Regions from separate parts of the Homo sapiens genome. Here region 1 is linked to region 2. The links are contacts of gene promoters, found by promoter capture Hi-C in blood cells and fetal thymus (Javierre and others, 2016). All regions are on one chromosome and are shown on one strand. Each heading gives the region's core, a stretch centred on a gene start or on the middle of the fragment in contact. The rest is flanking DNA. Distances are from core to core; before and after follow the strand shown. Region 1 overlaps PEMT (phosphatidylethanolamine N-methyltransferase). Region 2 holds the start of RASD1 (ras related dexamethasone induced 1).

Region 1 (3,156 bases), core at 113-2,612, 33 kb before region 2:
CATAGCTTTCAGTCTCAGGTTCAACATCTTCTGTTCCCAGAGTAGACTGGAATCGGCCTTTTAACCAAGGAGCTCTGGTTATTTTTAGTGGAAAATGATATTTGGAGACCACAGTTTGAATGCTAGGGTGCTCACTGTTCCAGGCCTCTCTAGGAAAAATGATTTTTTTTTTTTTTTTTTTGAGACGGAGTCTCACTCTGTCGCCCAGGCTGGAATGCAGTGGCACCATCTCGGCTCACTGCAACCTCCGCCTCCTGGGTTCAAGCAATTCTCCTGCCTCAGCCTCCCGAGTAGCTGGGATTGCAGGCACCTGCCGTTACGCCCGGCCAATTTTTTGTAATGGAAAAATGAATTTTTTAGAAATAGAAATAAATCATGAATTCATACCAATATTTCCACTTCAAAAGTTTTTGTTCAACCTTTCAATTTCATTTTTGTACCACTTTTATAGGAAGCTTGGATCCTAAATACAGTAACATAATTAATGTGTATATAGTCAAAATAATAATAATATCTGTATTATTAAATATTTTATCACCAACAATAGATTTACTCGATGCAGTCTAGAATCTTTCTGGTTCTTTTGTCCTCAGGCTGTGCGGCAGGAGGGAGGATTAGTCAAAATACTGTATTTCAAAATCACTTGAAACTTCTTATCTGTGTTTTTACCAGGTTTATTGATTGAGTTTTTGGATTTCTAGTAGTTCCTTTGTTCTCTCTCTTTTTTTTTGGAGACGGAGTCTCTCTGTCACCCAGGCTGGAGTGCAATGGTGCCATCTCAGCTCACTGCAACCTCCGCCTCCGGGGTTCAAGGGATTCTCCCACCTCAGCTTCCCAAGTAGCTGGGATTAAAGGCACCCGCCATCATGCCCGGCTAATTTTTGTATTTTCGTAGAGACGGGGTTTCACCATGTTGGTCAAGCTGGTCTTGAACTCCTGACCTCAGGTGATCCGCCCGCCTCGGCCACCTAAAGTGCTGGGATTACAGGTGTGAGCCACTGTGCCTGCCCTGTTCTTACTCTTAATTATGCAAAACATTTACATGGTTCCATAGTCAACAAAGGACATTTGTAAATGTCTGGCATGTCTCCTCCCTCACCTGTAGGTAATAATTTTGATCAGTTTTGGGTTTGTCCTTCCCCTGTTGCTTTTTGAAAATGTAAGCAAGTCTGTGTGTGTATCTTCCCCCAGCCCCTCTTCATGTCCTTATACAACAGGATGGGTGCACCTTCCGCACTTGCTTTTTTACTTAATGAATATATCCTGGAGCTTACACCATAGCAATAGATAGAAATCTTCCTCCTTTCTACAAGGAGCCCTTCTCCAGGGTGGGGCTGTAGCGCAGTTCATTCAGCCCCTCCCCCTGCCAGTGGACACTGGGGTGGGTTCCATCTTTATACGATGCTATAGGTAGTGCTGGAGCTAGAATTTGAACTCAGAGCCCATGTTCCTATTGCTCTTTCTCCTGTGCTCTGTGGGCCGTCATAATGGAGGAGGCGGGGAGCAAAACGGAGTGAAGAGGTTGAGCATGAGCACTGAGGCTGGGGGAGGCGAGTGTCCCCCGCTGTGCCATGGCCCCTCGGGTGTGAAGCTGGGTCATGTTGCTTTGCTGGGGCCTCGGGTGCAGGTTGTCTGGAAGTGGGCAGCTGGTGCTGGGACCTGCTCTCTGGCACTAGTGTGCTCACTGCAGGGCGAGAGCTTGGGTGCACCTTGGACAGGGATTGATTCACTGGACTAGCTGGTGGAGTGGGCAGGTCTGTTGATCTGTTGGAGACAATGACTGTTGGAGCCCTCGAGCAGGCTGTGTCACGTGGAAGGGCAGTTGAGCCATGTGCTGTGGGACGCTTTGGATGCTGCCCTGAGCTGCCACTGGTCCTATGTCCTGGAGAGGCCCTGGCCCAGGTTCAGCAGCACTGGCCAGATTGGGGCAGATCTGAAAGGAGCCAGGGCTGTGCACACCTGGCAGGACAGGTGGAACTGGGTGTTGGGAAGGGCAGGTGTGATCCAGGTCACCGGGCCGGCTGGGCCTAGCGTGTGCAGAGCAGAGGGGGCTGACACGGTGCGACCTCGGAGAGCCGCCTGTTCATATATGCACTTGCTTGCTGGCCCAGGGCCTGCCTAGCTGGCAGTGACTGGGTCCTGTGCTGGGCTCTGCTGAGCTCCCACAAACACACCCCATCCACTATGAGCCCTGGTGAGAAGGGAGAGGGGTCCAGGCCCCGCTGGGATGCGCGGTGTGGACAGCACTTGGCGTGCACATGAAGCTTATGTGACGGTATCACAGTGACCTTGATCTGGGGCTGGGGAGGAAATGCCTCGATGGGCTGTCCTCATGCTGCTGGGCCTGGGCCATCGGGGCCGGCCTAGGGGATGCCCAGTAGCCTTGGCAGCCTCAGCCATCCTTGTCAACTCCAGTGGGACTGGGGGATCCTGAATCCCACCTCCTGATGCCAGTGGAGCCCTGAGTTTCTGTTCAGAAGGCCAATGGAGGGCTGGGCTCCACCGCCTCTGAGGTCCCTGACCTCTCATAGGTTCTGGGGGGCCAGGGTGGGATGAGGGAGAGACAGGAGTCATGGGCAGACTCCCTGCTGCCCCGGGGACGTCTCACTCAGACATTTGTATGTCACCTACAGGTACCCTGGGGGCCTTAGGGCCCCTCCTCTCTTCATGGAGCCCAGCTAGTGGCCCCCTCCCTTCCTGGCTCCCTGCAAGGCGAGGGAAAGAGGAGAGGAGAGAAGGCCTCGGAGCGCTGATGTATCCATCATTCCACACAGACCCGTGCTTGTTGAGTGCCTCCTCGGGTGGTAGCCCCACGTGGGATTCAGCATAGTGCAGGCAGAGGTGGACACAGTGTGAACTGTTAGGCCACAGCCACATCTTGCCGGAGCCGCAAGGCAGGAGTTCAGGAGTGAGAAGGCACTGGCTGCGGCTCCTGGGGCTGGAAAGGGGGCCAGTCAGGCAGGCAGAGGGGTGGGTCCAGCTGTAGAAGCGAGATGGGGGCGGTTCGGGAGGCAAAAGCAGGAAGGCAGAAGGAAGCTTGGAGCTCATGAGCCCCTCTGTGCTGGCGCACGGCCCACGTCCTCTAAACAAAAGGGATGGGCTCCTTCAGTGGTTCCGTGGGCCCTTGGCAAAGCTCGTGGAAACACCAGCTCCTCC
Region 2 (3,329 bases), core at 318-2,817:
GGCCACTGATGAGCCCTTGGATGCTCACTGTGTGATGCGTGCATTTGAAATATCTGACAGTAAGAGTGAGGCCTGGGAGAGATGCAGGGACTCTGAGGATGGGGGCCAAGCTGGGCTGAGAAACAAGTTAGTGGTGTCCTGCAGCAGCCCCTACAGCAAGTGCCAGCGTGGGAGGGAGGTGGGTAGGCATGGGGTGGGTGGTATGGCACTCACAGCACTGCCTGCAGACCACCACCTGACAGCTGGGCCGGTGGTGCCAGCTAATGGCTCCCTAGTTTTCTCGTAAGTCAGACGTGGCCAAAGCAAAACACTGAGCACACAGGTTGCCTTGAGGAGCAGTGACTGCCTCAAGAGCTCAGGGCTGAGGAGCTGGCTCCAGACAGCCTGTTGCCAATGTTCAGCAACATCACCCCACTCCTGGTTACTGATCGACCTGGTGTGCTCTTGAGAGTACCCCCACCAGGCCTCATGGGTCAATACTACTGTTATTGTTGCTATTGTTATTACCAGGCCCCGCCCTCCTAAAGCATTTGCATATTTTCATCCTTAATCACAGAACCAGAATCAGTATCTTCCAGAAGAGAAAACTGAGGCCCAGGAGAAAGCAAGAGGCTGTGCTGTGCTCCCAGGGCCTTCCTGGCTCGCTGTGGCTTTGAGCTCCAGGTCTCTCAGCTAGACAATGAGAACGTCGGCCCACGCGCGGCACAGTAAAAGCCCAAAATGCTATGATGGACGGGGTGGGCCGCTGGCTGCAGAGCCCTCCATACCACAGAGCATCTCTGGCTGGGAGAAAGGAGCAGGCTGAGGCCTGCAGCAGAGCGCGGGGTTGGGGACCGCTCCTGTTGGGCCCCAGCAAGGCGCCCTGAGACCCCTGCTCCATCCCTGCCGCTCCCCACCCGCCTGCTCCTAGCCTCTGTTCTAGCTCTGCCCGCGGCGGCCACAGCCTCCCCGAGCCGCCGGCCGGGCCCTCTGCTGCCCTCTGGCGGCCCGAGCGCGCGGTGCCGAGCTCCGCGCCTGAGGCCCTGAAACCCCGCGTCCGCCCGGCGGTCGCCTCCCGGGAACAAGAGCCCGGCTGGGGACCGGAGCGGAAGGGGGCTGGGGCTGGGGCTGTGCTCTGAGGACTGCAATATACGGTCCGCGCAAGCACTCAGCAAACGCTGCTGCGCTTACTGGGTTACTTACTAGATTCCTATTCTCTGGGGAAACTGAGAACCAAAGAAAATAAGTGTACGCGCGCGGGAGGTGCAGGAATGGGGGTCCTTGCCCGAAGTCGCAGAGGGACAGGGGCACCGCCGGGACCAGAACCCCGACGCCCCTGCGGCCGCCGAGCCCGCGGCAGTGGAAAAGCGGAGTCCGAGCGCCTCCAGCCTCAGCCCGACCCTGGACTGCTCCCCCCAGCCCCCGCGCCCAGAGAGCAGGAGCCCGGCAGCGGGTGACGAGGTCGCCGGGACTGGGAGCCGGTGCGGGGGAGGCGGGCCCCGCGGGGCGTGACGCACCGAGCTGGGAGGGCCGGGGCGGGGCAGCCGAGCAGGCTGCATATAAGGGCGGCGGCCGGGCGCCAAAGCCAGAGCAAGCGGCCTGTGCCCAGATCCTGGGAGAACCCCAGCCGAGCCCAGCCTAGCCCGAGCCCAGCCCGAGCGGAGCCGGAGCCCCAAGCCCGAGCCGCGCCCAGCCCGAGCAGAGCCCTCCAGCCGCTCACCCCGCGTGCCACCCCAGCGACCCTCAGCCGCTCTCTGCCCTTCTCTCGGCCCCGCGCCCGCCCTCGCGGCCCCTCTGCCCAATGAAACTGGCCGCGATGATCAAGAAGATGTGCCCGAGCGACTCGGAGCTGAGTATCCCGGCCAAGAACTGCTATCGCATGGTCATCCTCGGCTCGTCCAAGGTGGGCAAGACGGCCATCGTGTCGCGCTTCCTCACCGGCCGCTTCGAGGACGCCTACACGCCTACCATCGAGGACTTCCACCGCAAGTTCTACTCCATCCGCGGCGAGGTCTACCAGCTCGACATCCTCGACACGTCCGGCAACCACCCGTTCCCCGCCATGCGGCGCCTCTCCATCCTCACAGGTGAGCCGGGGGCCGGGCAGGTGCGGGAGGGAAGGGCGGGGAACCCTCGGCCAGGGCGCCCCGCGAGCGCCGGTCCGGCTGCCGCGCGCCGAGTAGTGCGCTTCGCGCTTAGAGAGGCTAGCGCGCCCCGCGCGGCCTCAAAGTCAGCCCGACTTGTCCCCTGGGCGGCCACCCTCACCTTCTCCTTTTCTGCTCTCTGTGCCCCCTCTAGGAGACGTTTTCATCCTGGTGTTCAGTCTGGACAACCGCGACTCCTTCGAGGAGGTGCAGCGGCTCAGGCAGCAGATCCTCGACACCAAGTCTTGCCTCAAGAACAAAACCAAGGAGAACGTGGACGTGCCCCTGGTCATCTGCGGCAACAAGGGTGACCGCGACTTCTACCGCGAGGTGGACCAGCGCGAGATCGAGCAGCTGGTGGGCGACGACCCCCAGCGCTGCGCCTACTTCGAGATCTCGGCCAAGAAGAACAGCAGCCTGGACCAGATGTTCCGCGCGCTCTTCGCCATGGCCAAGCTGCCCAGCGAGATGAGCCCAGACCTGCACCGCAAGGTCTCGGTGCAGTACTGCGACGTGCTGCACAAGAAGGCGCTGCGGAACAAGAAGCTGCTGCGGGCCGGCAGCGGCGGCGGCGGCGGCGACCCGGGCGACGCCTTTGGCATCGTGGCACCCTTCGCGCGCCGGCCCAGCGTACACAGCGACCTCATGTACATCCGCGAGAAGGCCAGCGCCGGCAGCCAGGCCAAGGACAAGGAGCGCTGCGTCATCAGCTAGGAGCCCCGCCGCGCTGGCGACACAACCTAAGGAGGACCTTTTTGTTAAGTCAAATCCAACGGCCCGGTGCGCCCCAGGCCGGGAGCGCGCGCGGACTGGCGTCTCCCCTCCCGGCGATCCGCCCCCAGCACTGGGGAGGCGCCACTGAACCGAGAAGGGACGGTCATCTGCTCCGGAAGGAAAGAGAACGGGCCAAGACTGGGACTATTCCCCACCCCCGGTCCCCCATTGAGGCCCGCCACCCCCATAACTTTGGGAGCGAGGGCCCAGCCGAGGGTGGATTTATCTTCTCAAAGACCTAAGAGTGAGCGCGGGGTGGGGGAGGGATGTGAAGTTATCCAGCCTCTGCTAGGCTTCAAGAAACCGTCATGCCCGCTTGAGGGTCAGGACCCACGGGGCATTATCTTGTCTGTGATTCCGGGTTGCTGTGACAGCCGGTAGAGCCTCTGCCCTCCCAAAACTAAGCGGGGGGGCGTGGGTCAAATCATAGCC

The links. The method cuts DNA at HindIII sites, captures the fragments that hold promoters and counts their contacts. A CHiCAGO score of 5 or more calls a contact.
Region 1: a fragment that was not itself captured here is called in contact with the fragment with the promoter of RASD1 in region 2 in 3 of 17 cell types (endothelial precursors, erythroblasts and megakaryocytes); the score reaches 5.7 in endothelial precursors.

Annotation. Positions count from the first base shown.
Region 1 is chr17:17,528,068-17,531,223 of GRCh38, reverse strand. All of the region lies in intron 2 of PEMT (phosphatidylethanolamine N-methyltransferase), which reads left to right. Among named protein-coding and RNA genes, the nearest start is that of RASD1, 33 kb to the right of the region's middle. The HindIII fragment of the contact is 1,809 bases long and covers 458-2,266 here.
Region 2 is chr17:17,494,633-17,497,961 of GRCh38, reverse strand. RASD1 (ras related dexamethasone induced 1) reads left to right here and starts at 1,567. Exons shown (of 2, transcript NM_016084.5): 1 at 1,567-2,066; 2 at 2,278-3,329. The coding sequence starts at 1,781. The coding sequence ends at 2,837. RefSeq lists silencers at 847-1,076, 1,127-1,256, 1,417-1,636. The HindIII fragment of the contact is 31,419 bases long and covers 1-3,329 here.